Regions from separate parts of the Homo sapiens genome. Here regions 2 and 3 are each linked to region 1. The links are contacts of gene promoters, found by promoter capture Hi-C in blood cells and fetal thymus (Javierre and others, 2016). All regions are on one chromosome and are shown on one strand. The core of a region is centred on a gene start or on the middle of the fragment in contact, and the rest is flanking DNA. Distances in the headings are between cores, read along the strand shown.

What was found. The method cuts DNA at HindIII sites, captures the fragments that hold promoters and counts their contacts. A CHiCAGO score of 5 or more calls a contact.
Region 2: a contact is called between a fragment that was not itself captured here and the fragment with the promoter of ZNF620 in region 1, in 1 of 17 cell types (M0 macrophages). The highest score is 6.0, in M0 macrophages.
Region 3: a contact is called between a fragment that was not itself captured here and the fragment with the promoter of ZNF620 in region 1, in 3 of 17 cell types (naive B cells, total B cells and naive CD8 T cells). The highest score is 6.2, in naive B cells.

The regions. Positions count from the first base shown.
Region 1 is chr3:40,504,240-40,508,329 of GRCh38, forward strand. It overlaps ZNF620 (zinc finger protein 620), which reads left to right and starts at 1,800. Exons shown (of 5, transcript NM_175888.4): 1 at 1,800-1,899; 2 at 2,065-2,137. The coding sequence starts at 2,114. The HindIII fragment of the contact is 1,073 bases long and covers 728-1,800 here.
Region 2 is chr3:41,239,864-41,243,953 of GRCh38, forward strand. CTNNB1 (catenin beta 1) reads left to right here. Exons shown (of 15, transcript NM_001904.4): 15 at 1-580. Among named protein-coding and RNA genes, the nearest start is that of CTNNB1, 42 kb to the left of the region's middle. The HindIII fragment of the contact is 1,510 bases long and covers 1,147-2,656 here.
Region 3 is chr3:41,205,353-41,209,442 of GRCh38, forward strand. All of the region lies in intron 1 of CTNNB1 (catenin beta 1), which reads left to right. Among named protein-coding and RNA genes, the nearest start is that of CTNNB1, 7.9 kb to the left of the region's middle. The HindIII fragment of the contact is 1,601 bases long and covers 1,013-2,613 here.

The sequences.
Region 1 (4,090 bases), core at 550-3,049:
TTATTTTCTTATGAGTGAGTTTTGAGAGTCCTTTATATATTTTGGAAACAAGTCTTTTATCAAATATTTTTGGTATTTTCTCCCAGTCTGTGGCTTGTCTTTTCATTCTCTAAAAGTATCTTCTGAAAAGCAGAAGATTTAACTTTGATTAAGTCCAATTTATCATGTTTTTTTCCACTGGCTAATACTGTTTAGAATTTGTGGTGTATATGTATGTACGTTTATGTGCACCCACTCATGGTAAATGTTCATTTTAATAGGTTTAGCGAAGGGACAGTATGCACATGTATGTCCTTGTCATGCCATTGTTTCTGGAAATCTAATTATTTAAAACAAGTGCTGTGCATAAACTTTAAAGTGAAAATACTATAGATTTTATAAAATGAACTGTTTCTGTGACAGTTAAAATCTCTGTGCTAGGTGGCCCCACAATGGCTCCCAATGGTTCTCATATCCTGGCATTCAAACCTTGTGTATCTCTTCCCACACTGAATCATGACTAATCTGAGGAGAATGTATTGAGGAAATCATGATGCATGATTTCCAAAACTAGGTCATAAAAGCTTTGGCCTTGGCCTCTTGGATTGCTCACTTTGGGAGAAAGCTACATGCCATGTTGTGAAAACCCTCACATGGGAAGGAACTGACGCTTCCTGCCAACAACCAGCACCCACTTGACAGCCATGTGAGTAAACCACCTTGGAGGTGGATCCTCCAAACTCAGTCAAGCTTCAGATGACTTCAGCCCCACATGACACCTGACTGCAACCTCAGCAGAGACCCTCAGCCAGTACCACCCAGCCAAGCTGCTCTTGAATTCTGGGTCCACAGAAACTGTCAAAAGATAACAATGTTTATTGTTTTTAGCCACAAAGCATTAGAGTAGTTTATTATCCAGCAGTAGATACATAATATACTCTCCATGGCAGGACTTGTTTTGAAAGTGGTGGATAAATCTAATTCCTGTGGAAGGAATAACTAAAATCTGTTTCCAGGCTGGGCCGGGACACACATCCCAGTACAGGGCAGGAAAGGGCTCTAAGCCAAATGTTAATAGCTCTTTCGCTAAACTTCGAAAATTGTCCTTAAAAAAATCTATTTCCCTAAAGCACGCCACATATTGGAGTCCCAGCAGCACCTATTTTGTGTCTTCAAAAAACACAATTGGAAAACAAAACAATACAAACTCACGAGTACATACTATGTGCCAGGCACAACTGTAAATAATTTACCTATCAATTAACTAATTTAATGAATTAACCCTGAACAGCCTCAAGAGGTTGGTACCACCATCATAATACCCATTTAATAGACAAGGAAACCGGGGCAAAGAAACTTGCTGCAGGTCACACAACTAGCAAGTGGTGCAGCTGGGTTTCTGGACCTACGTAGTCCATACACATTCGGCCTTCTGAGTAATGGGTTCGCCTTTCCCCACACCCACTTTTCCCACTGCAGCGCACCCACACAATCCAGACAGTTTTGGCGCATGTGAAGGGCGCGATGGTCCCTTCATTATCTGGAAGGACACCCAGAGTGGCAAATGCCAGATAACCACGAATAATACCCAGGATAGTAACCATTCTGTGGCCTGAGCTGGCCAGACGTCATGCCCCGAAGGAGCTACCAGGTGTGGGCGCTGCAGGACCCCTGCCTGGGGCCGCCCGCTCGGGCCCGTGTTGTCTCAGGCAGTAGGGACACTGGCGCTGACGGCGGGGGTAGGAAACCACAGAGACTGGCAACTTCCCAGGTTCCTAGAGAGGAGGGGCATGGAAAACGCACTTCCGGCGGAGGGTCTCAAGCTTTCCCCGGTGTCGGCGGCAGGTGGAATTTCCACGCTTTATCTGCGCCTGCGCCGCGCGGGATTCGCGGTCCGAGCTGAAGAGGTTCGCGGTCCGGGTAACTGATTGGTTTTCCTGGGGCTTGTTCTGCCTGGTTTTGCAACCCCTTTGCTTTTTGGGGTGAGGAGTTGGCGGAAAGGAGAGGGGCCCAAGTAGCACAGAGGGCATTTGCGGGGTGCGAGGCAGCATCAATCTCACCGGTGCTTCTTTATTTTCTCTTCAGTTTCACTTCTCCGAACCCTGAGGCAGTGTGTGAAGCTGGGACGCCAGCCATGTTCCAGACCGCTTGGCGCCAGGTGAGTGAGCATCCTCTCCCTCCCTCCCACCCTTTAGATGTCAAGAGAGAGCAGGTGTCACCTCTGCATTCAGATCTTGAGTTGTGTAGGCCAGTGGCTTCCATTGTGCATCTGTCACTATGAGAGGGATGGAGAGGTGAGAATGCCCAAATTAAGACTAGAAAACTAGTGAGTGTGGGGGGATTGGTTGGGATTTGGCATTTGAAGCCAGCTTAAAAATAAAAATTATGAAATGTGGAAATCTGCATTATTACATCCAATAAAGACCCCTTTCACCCTAGTCCGCAGGCTTGGAGAAGTACTTACTTCTTCAGTATAGCAATTCTAGTAACTGTTTTGTAGATTCCATTGTATTTTCTACATAGGTCATCTATGAGTAAAGATAGTTTTACTCCTTTCTTTCCAGTCTGGATGCCTTTTATTTTATTTTGTCTTGCCTTACTGCACTGGCTAGAAGCATTATTTCAATATTGAACAGAAGTGGTGAGAGCAGATATCTTTGTCTTATTTATGCTTTTAAAGTGAAAGCATTCAATCTTTCACACTGAAGACTGATGTTCACTGTAGGTTTCTTGCTTTTTTGTTTTGTTTTGTTTTGTAAATGTCCTTTATCAGGCATTCTCTTCTAGTACTACTTTGGTGAGAGTTTTTATAGGAATGGATGTTGGATTTTGACAATTGCTTTTTCTGTGTCTATTTAGATGACCATATGGTTTTTTTTTTTTTTTTTTTTTGAGATGGAGTCTTGCTCTATCGACAGGCTGGAGTGCAGTGGCGCGATCCTGGTTCACTGCACCCTCCACCTCTGGGGTTCAAGCGATTCTCCTGCCTCAGCCTCCCGAGTAGCTGGGACTACAAGCACGCGCCACCACACCCAGCTAATTTTTGTATTTTTAGTAGAGACCAGGTTTCACCATGTTGGCCAGGATGGTCTCGATCCCTTGACCTCGTGATTCCCCCACCTTGGCTTCCCAAAGTGCTGGGATTACAGGCGTGAGCCACCGTGCCCAGCCTCTCTTTGTTAATGTGGTGAATTACATGATTTTTCTTTCAAATATTAAACCAACTCTGCGGTGGGATAAAACCGACTTCGTCATGGTGTATTATTATTTTATTAGTACTATATATTGAATTTAATTTGTTAAAATTTTATTTAGAATTTCTGTATCTATGTTTATGAGGTATTGATTTGCAGTTTTCTTTTCTTGTGATGTCTTTGTTCCATAGAATGAGAAATATTCCCTCCTCTTTAATATTTTGGAAGAATTTATGTAGAGTTGACTGCATTTCTTCCTTAAATGTTTGGTAGAATTCAACAGTGAAGCTATCTAGGCATGGGGTTTTCTTTCTGATAAGGTTTTTAAGTACAGTTTTGAGTCCTTTGGTAGATACAGGGGCTACTCTGGTTATCTCTTTTTATTTATTTATTTTTATTTTTTGACAACGGTTTTCTCTATGTTGCCCAGGCTGACCTCAAATTGGGCTCAAGCAATCCTCCCCGCTCAGCCTCCCAGGTACCTGGGACTACAGGCATGCATCACTACGCCCAGCTTAAATGAGTTTTGGTAACTTGTGCCTTTCAAGGAACTTATCCATTTTATCTAAGTTGTAGAAATTATTCACATAAAGTTGTTCATAATATGTGCTTATCTTTTATTACCTGCAGTGATGTCACTTCTTTTATTACTAATATTAATGATTTGTGTATTCTCTCTTTTTTTCTGGTCACTGGCTAGAGGTTTATGAATTTTATTAATTTTTCTTTAAGAACTAGCTTCTGGTTTCATTACTTTTCTGTTTTATGTCATTAGTTTTCACTTTGATCTTTAATGTCTTTTTTATATTTATTTTGTGTTAAATTTGCTATTCTTTTTTTAGTTTTAAGGGGGAAGCTGAAGTCACAGATTTGAGATCTTTCTTTTTTTTTTGTTTTGTAAAATAGGCATTTAGTGC
Region 2 (4,090 bases), core at 652-3,151, 740 kb after region 1:
AATGCACAAGAATGGATCACAAGATGGAATTTATCAAACCCTAGCCTTGCTTGTTAAATTTTTTTTTTTTTTTTTTTAAGAATATCTGTAATGGTACTGACTTTGCTTGCTTTGAAGTAGCTCTTTTTTTTTTTTTTTTTTTTTTTTTGCAGTAACTGTTTTTTAAGTCTCTCGTAGTGTTAAGTTATAGTGAATACTGCTACAGCAATTTCTAATTTTTAAGAATTGAGTAATGGTGTAGAACACTAATTCATAATCACTCTAATTAATTGTAATCTGAATAAAGTGTAACAATTGTGTAGCCTTTTTGTATAAAATAGACAAATAGAAAATGGTCCAATTAGTTTCCTTTTTAATATGCTTAAAATAAGCAGGTGGATCTATTTCATGTTTTTGATCAAAAACTATTTGGGATATGTATGGGTAGGGTAAATCAGTAAGAGGTGTTATTTGGAACCTTGTTTTGGACAGTTTACCAGTTGCCTTTTATCCCAAAGTTGTTGTAACCTGCTGTGATACGATGCTTCAAGAGAAAATGCGGTTATAAAAAATGGTTCAGAATTAAACTTTTAATTCATTCGATTGTGTCACTCTTTCTTTTTTTCTTGTCATTAATAAATGGTTTGTGAGGGTGGTAAGTAAGTTTATCCAACTCAACTTTATCCTGAACTTTATCCTGAGATAGATAGATACATAGTGAAGTAATTTGTTGTAGCGATAGAGAGGGCCCTACTTCTCTAGATGCAATTTGCCAAGTTTCTTTAGCATTTGGCCCTGGATTACGCTGGACCCCTAAAAAAGTGTTTCAGCCTTGCACATTGTGATTAGTTCTGGGCTTTGGTGGGAGAAAGCCAAGCAGACTATCCATCTATCTATCTCTACCCCAATCCCCCTCAGATGATTTGATTCCATTAAAGTAATGAAATAAATAGTAACTACCCCTACCTGGATTTGGATTTGAATCACCTTCACCCAAGTGTGACTCATTGGGAGAGGGGAATTCCTTCAACTGGACTTTGAACTAATAATAATTAAATAAATTAAATAGGTTTAAGTGTTGATGTTTATCTGAACATAATCAGAACCAGAATGAGCCTTCCACAGTACCTGCCAGATGATCCTATCATCCCGGTGGTAGGTCTGACAAGCTTAGTTCATCTCATCTCTTCAGGTAGACCTGTTTGTTAAGACTTGTGTTTTGGTCTTTTAAAAAGTAAAAGAAAGAAGTGTTTTGTCTTTAGGGAGAGCTCTTTCTGATTTACTGTTTTTATTTTGATGATGATTGATAGTGACTATTAATTATGAGAAAAACATACATTCAGTTCTTTTTCGTTAAAAATCAGCTTCATCTGGGGAGGCCTTTTTGTGAATGCCCTTGCTTTGCAAAAATGAATTCATTGTGGTCTAAAATGTAATTAGGGTTTGAAAAGAAACATTCACATAGCTGATGATGTGGTAGGTCTCAGGTTCTGTCTCATGTGTGATAAACCAAACCAGCCAGTATTTCAAGAAGCCTAGGGCTATTGGTAGGTTAACACCGTGAAGATCTTCAGTGAATTCAGCTTTTAACATAAAGAGCCACCGCACGGTGTTTCAATTACAGAAAGAACAACTTTTTAAAACCAGAGAATGTTTTCAGAGCTTTGCTAATTCATTGTATTTTATTTTTGAAGTTTAAAAACTTAATGTGAGAGTTAATCCAGTTCAACAAGGTGGCTCTGGAAGTACCAAGGGTGAATAATAGCCAAGACGCTTAGGAAAAATAGCACTTGCTCTAGCAGCTGTCAAGGCCTAACTACTTAATACAAAGCTAAAGTTAGTTAACCCTGTTACAGGAATAGGGATATAAATACAGATTAATACAGAATAATACACAGGCATTTAAAGACTCTTCAGAGACAGCGTTGGAGATCCGAGTGGGAGGAGAGCAACTTTTTCATAAAGGTGTGAAACAGCCGTTGGAATAAAACAATACAGAAAAACATCCATGACCCAACAAAATATCAAGATTTTAAATAAAGGCAGTAGTACTGATTTTTCTTTTGCCTCAAGCGCCAGTAAGGCTTGGTAGGGCACAACGCTGACAGTCTACACTGGACGCCCATGTGTCCAACAATCTCTGTTCACACGAGACAGTGCAGTGAAAAACTACAGCTTCAGTGATGTGGGTGTCAGTATAGTATGCATATATCTATCTCACATAACACTGAACAAAAGCAAGTTACAGATGCATGCTTTAGAACTCCATTGATCATCAATTAAAAAAAGGGACAAGCTATTTTAAGGAAAATATCCACAGATGGAGCAAGGAGATGATTAGATGACTATAGAAATCAGAATAATGGTTAACCTGGAGAGGGAGGTGCATGGGATGCTGGCAAGGTACCTAACCTTTCCTGTAAATAGTGGTGAAGAAAGTGAGGTCAAGTTTTCAATAAGAGAAGTAGTGGTGGGGAGGAAAAGGCCTAAAAGGAATGCTGCCCACTTGCATTTCCGGGTACAGGAGGTGAAAATGACAAAATGAACATGGCCGTTGAGAATAGGAGGGCTTTCCAGCCTGAGTGTTCTTTTTTCAGTTGTGCTGTAGTTATGAGACAGCCTTGAGAGTTAAGACATTTGATCCCATTGCAGCAACCACCATTGAACCAAAGAAGGAAGCTTTTCTATGTTGGAGCAGATCTTACAGACATGAGGCTTTGAAATCTGATGATCTGAATCCTTAATAATGAAAGATCTTAAGATAAACACACTCTTTAACTCTTGGTTGCTATAATAAAAAGATGTGAATTGTGCTGTTTTGTTTATAAAGCAAAAATGCTAAGTTGATCTGCAGTTCTATTAAGTGAGAACCTGCCTTTCCTTGCCTTGAGCAGATCACCCACCAAAGTGAAATTATGAAATGATGGGGCTGCAGGGGCTGTCAGGGCAGTTCTTCCTTTTTCTTTTATCGCAGCCTCCTATGTGGAATTCTGTATAATATCCATTCCACCACTTGAGACTCCAGTAAACGTAGAAGGAAGTGACAAGTTTCAGAGTTGAGGTTGTGGGGGAAGGTCAGAACAGGTATAGGGGTATGCAGGAAGGCAAAGGAGAAACCCCATCTCTATGTATTTCCAAAGTAGGTTTTGGCATGAATAGGGAAAGGTCCGTGTGTCCATAAATGTAATTTCCATGTTAGGTACGACTGAGAGCCACTCTGTGACAAAGCAGTTCTACTCAGAATTATTTGAGGTATACTCACGAGTATGTACAAGGAATTCATTGCAACACTGTCAAAGATAGCAACCCAAATAGGTGTCAAAAGGGAACCTAACTAGTTAAGCAAATTTTGATGCATCTATTTGGTGGACCACTCTGCAGTCAAAGGGGGGAAAAAAAACCAGCCCATAAAGCTGTGTTTTGGAATAAAATGGTCTTCAAAATACATAGTAAGAGAAAAAGCAAGGAGCAGAGTTGACAGCTGCTCACATATGGGTAAAAAGGGGTGGGTGCAGAATCTTTGTGAAGATAGGCATAGACCATCCCTGGATGCACACGAAGACCCTAGTGGCAATGGGCACCTTGCAGGAGGAGACAGGGAGAGGACTAACAGCGTGTGAGGGAGGAACTCTGCTGTCTATCTTTTGGGTGTTTTCACCAGGCTTCATTTGTACCAGGCTTCTGGATTGGATATCACCATTCAAATGTAATTATTTATTAAAACACCTAATGGATGCATTTGTCCACCCGCCTCAACATCAAGCCTCTGATGGGAGAGGCCAGAGGCTGGATTTTAAGGGCAGATTAAAACTCCTCGTTCTAGGCCCAGCTTCTTGCTCCCACACACCACTTCTCAACCCCACTGAAGCTTGAGGCCAAGGCTGCCTAGCTTTGCCTAGTCTCGCCCAACCCCACTCCAGACAGCTGTCCCAAGAGGCCAAGCCTCTTGTAGCTTTCTTGCAGCCTCTTCCCCCGTTCCCTACCACTTGCTACCGTAGCCCCTGTATGTATAAGATTATATTCTACATTGCATTTTTCTGTTGCCAGGGGAAAGAGAAAGGGCATCTTGCTTCAGGTGGAGACAGGTGAGACCTGGTGAGGGAGATTCCTC
Region 3 (4,090 bases), core at 563-3,062, 700 kb after region 1:
TAGGCAGTTAAATCGATTTTGGTTAAATCTTTTGCTGCTAACAAGGTATTTCCAGATTTTGAAAAGTGGGGTGGCCTGGTGCCTGTAGTACCAGCACTTTGGGAGGCTGGGGAGGGTGGATCACCTGAGGTCAGGAGTTCGAGACTAGCCTGGCCGACGTGGTGAATACAAAAATTAGCCAGGCATGGTGGCAGGTGCCTGTGATCCCAGCTGCTTGGAAGTCTGAAGCATGAGAATTGCTTGAACCTGGGAAGCGGAGGTTGCAGTGAGCTGAGATCACGCCACTGCACTCCAGCTGGGGCAACAGAGCGAGACTCCATCTCAAGAAAGAAAAGTGGGGTGTTTAGTCTTCAAACTCCGTGTTTAAGTGACTGGAGTGAAAATGTAAATCATAGGCCGGTGTTGGTTTAAAAAGCATCATCTGAAAATAATGCTGTAGTCTGCAATTATTTTTATTACGATACGATGGTGTAAAATACAAGCAGATCAGTGAACCATTCATGAAACATTAATCCTAAAGGCGTCTCACCCCAAGTCTATCCCACAATCTCCATGAGACTTCGTGGAACCACTGTAAAGTTTCTTGTGTAATATCCCAGAAGTTTCCTACCTCTGGTATCTTTTGAACTTGTTGAAAAGGCTTTTCCACCCCCTCTTTATGATGGTTTGAAGAGTGTGAACATCTGAATGATGCTGGGGTGAAACTGCTTCATAACACTTCCATTTTCTCCCCTATTTATTTCCATATTTTTATTTTTTCACTAATATCCCCACGGTTTTACTTCTGTTTTAGTAATTCACATGTTGCTGGACTAATTCTTTTTAACTGACTTGTAACAGATATGTTAAACCGTTTAAAACTTGGGGGGTATTTTTAACCTACTTTAAGTTAGTTCAAGTTAATCAGTCTACATGGCATATAAACCTTATGATTAATAAATCTTAAATGCTGGTAGCTGAGTTGGAAGCCAAAGACGTACAAAAAAGCTGAAGTGTTAGGTTTAGTGTGATAAGCTTCTCTTACTAACAGGGTTTTGTAATAGCAGAAATAGATATATGCATATATATGTGCATATATATAGCATACCTTATTGGATGTCCATATAAAAATGTGTAAGAAGTTAAATTTACTGCAAAATTTCTTGGGAGTGCAATTTGAAGATGATCTTAAGTGGTGATAGTAGTTTGCTACACTGGGGGATAGTTGTTGCAAACTGCTCCTAATTTTCCTTTACTGTGAAGTAAACTGAACAGCTGTAATAGGGATTAGGAACTGTACTCCCTCTCTCTCTTTTTTAAGTATAATTAAGTGGTTTTGGGGTAAGGGTGTAGGGAGTGAGTGTCTTTGAAGTTTTGCATATACTAGATGAATGCCACATGTATAAGGGAGGAACAAGGGATTCTTGGAAATATTTTTCAATCCAAGTAACTTTGGAGGCTTCCAAGTGGAGTTCATTCCCCTGTGTAGGAAAGTGCTGGGGTAGACCCTTAAATTCCTTTCTGAGCCATTGAAAGAATGTCCTCAAACTTCGCTTATACTTTATAGTTCATTTAGATACAAAAGTTACAAACTGAATGCTATTTAGGAAACGTAATACACTGACATACCGCTCTTTAAATAGATTATAAATTTAGTATATCAATTTTCTGGCATTTTGCTGAATTTTATTGTTTAGTTTTCAAGCCCAACTATCTTGTTACTTTGTATATCGTAGTTGTCCCCCGTTGATCACTGTTTCCTGCTTAATTGTGCTGTCGTTTTTCCTGGGTCCTGATTCAGAGTGTCAGCATTCTGTTCCCCATAGAATAAGAAGAGGCTAGAAAGTTTACAGATGAGATATCTAGGAATGCCAGAAGATCAGGGGTCACCGTTGAGGCAGAGTAATTAATTATGGTTAAAATGGTGTTGCTGATAAGTGGGTGCTGGGAAATAATTAAAATTTGATTTTTTAGAAGAATACTTCTCATGCTTGAAGAGCGCCCTCATTATATGCTAAAGGGCCTCAGGTTTTTCCTTATTGCCATTATGCTGCAGATTCTATTACATTTGTCTGAAAAGATCTAAGACAGAAGGGCTGTTTAATACCTTCCCTTTTCTCCTGAACTTCCCCTCTCCTCTCCCCCATCAGGAGCTAAGTAGGAACCCCTTCACCTTGTTACCATCAGATTTCATCAATGGTCTGTCTTTACAATGAAGGAAGTAGTACTGCATTCTGGGCAGAGGCCAGTCCTGAGGCATGCCTTTTCAAGGACATTGTTACTTTAGTTACACTGGCTCTTCTGTTTTAACTCTTATCCCCCAGACTCTAATCCTGTTGCTTTTTTTGGTCCCCATCTCCCACCTTTCATCATCTGAAATCCATTCATTGTAACTTCTGGAACTCAGTCGTTAGAAAATCCTTTATATTCTCAATCTTGTGAATGTTCCTTTCTTTCTTATTCCAGCTGTAACCTAGCCTTCTCCCCAAGAATGCTACTTCCCTTGCAGCTCTCTCAAGTGGTGAATTTTTCCCTTCTTGCACACCTTATAACACTGAACTAGGAGGTGTGTGGACTAAATGTCTGCTTTTGTTCCTTATTGTCACTTCTTGACCTTTATTTTCCAAAACTTCAAGCTTTGACTTTCATGTGATCAAATTATACCACCCACTGCCTGTCTTTATTTCAAGCACCTGCAAACCTTCCTGGGTCATTCACATCCTTCTTTGTTCACTTCATTAGCTCTTGGCTCATTGTCACTGTCTCTTATTTCTGTCATAATTCTTGGTGACATCAGTATCTATGTAGAGCAATACTAGTGAAGATGTGGTCTGGTAACTGTTACCTGTATGAATTAAGATAAGGAGTTATGCCAGAATATAAGTCACCTGTGTCACTAAGTTTACTGTTTAGCTTACTTTTTTTGTAGCAAGATTTTGATGAAGGACGCAATATGTTGATTTACAGTCTGGTACAAATTTTGATGTAGAAGATGCTTCCAATATCCTGGTCTCTTAGTTCCTTGATTTCTTCTCCAGTGATCTTATTTTCTACCCTAACTCAACTACATATTCCCATTGTCATATCCTAGAATATTTTGTCTTTTATCTGTAACTCTGCTCTCTTCCCCCAATCTCATTTCAAGCATCCCACTTTCTAATTCCTCTAGTAAATACGTCAGTTCCAACAGCCCATCAATCCCATTGGGACCTACAGTTTATCTATCCAAGCTTTTCCCTGTTCCTCACCCTCACTTCTATACAGCTGAAGTTTCATACTGAATTATAATCACTTTCTCGTATACACGTTTAACAATCTTGTCCCTCCCTGGCTTCATGCCCAGTGATCTCTTGTATCTATGACCATGTCCTTTATCTTCTCCTCTGTCACTGGATGAACTGTAGCCTTCCAAGATAAGGCCACTCAGTTCATTTGTACAGCAGATTCCATCCCCTCTTGCTCTCAAGAATATTACTGTGGTATCTCTCTTTTCTTGTCTCTACTGGCTCTTTCCATGAGCAAACATGGTATTATCCCATTACAAAAAAAATTTTTTCTCCGTCTCTCCTTCCACTCACCACCTCAGTCTCTGCTTCTCTTTCCCGCAAAATAACCTTGAAAAATTGCTTTATGTACTCCCGTTTTCTTTTGAACCCCTGCCAGTGACCACCACGTTATAAATTTGTAGTTGTCATCTCACTTAATCTGTTAGTAGTATTTGGCACCATTGCTACAGTTGCTTGAAATGCCTTTTCATTGGTTTCCAGGCCACCATGTCTGTTAGCAGCTTTTCCTCTTACTTCACTAGCATTTCCTTCTTTGTTTTTTCTGTTATCTTTCTGACCTCTGTTGGAGTGGCTGAAGGTTTAGTCCTTGAATCTTTTTTTGTTGTGCATATTTACTCCAGTATCATAGCTTTATACAGATGGTATTTACATCTGTTTGCTAACGATTTCCAAATTGGTATCCTTAAACTGGTATCCAGCTATTTTTTGGTCAGCATTTTGGATGTCTAAGAAGCTTCTCAAACTAAACTGACCTCCCGGTTTTCCCCAAAGCTGCATCTTAGTCTTTTCCGAAATGCAATTCTGTCTTTCCAGTTACCTAGCTT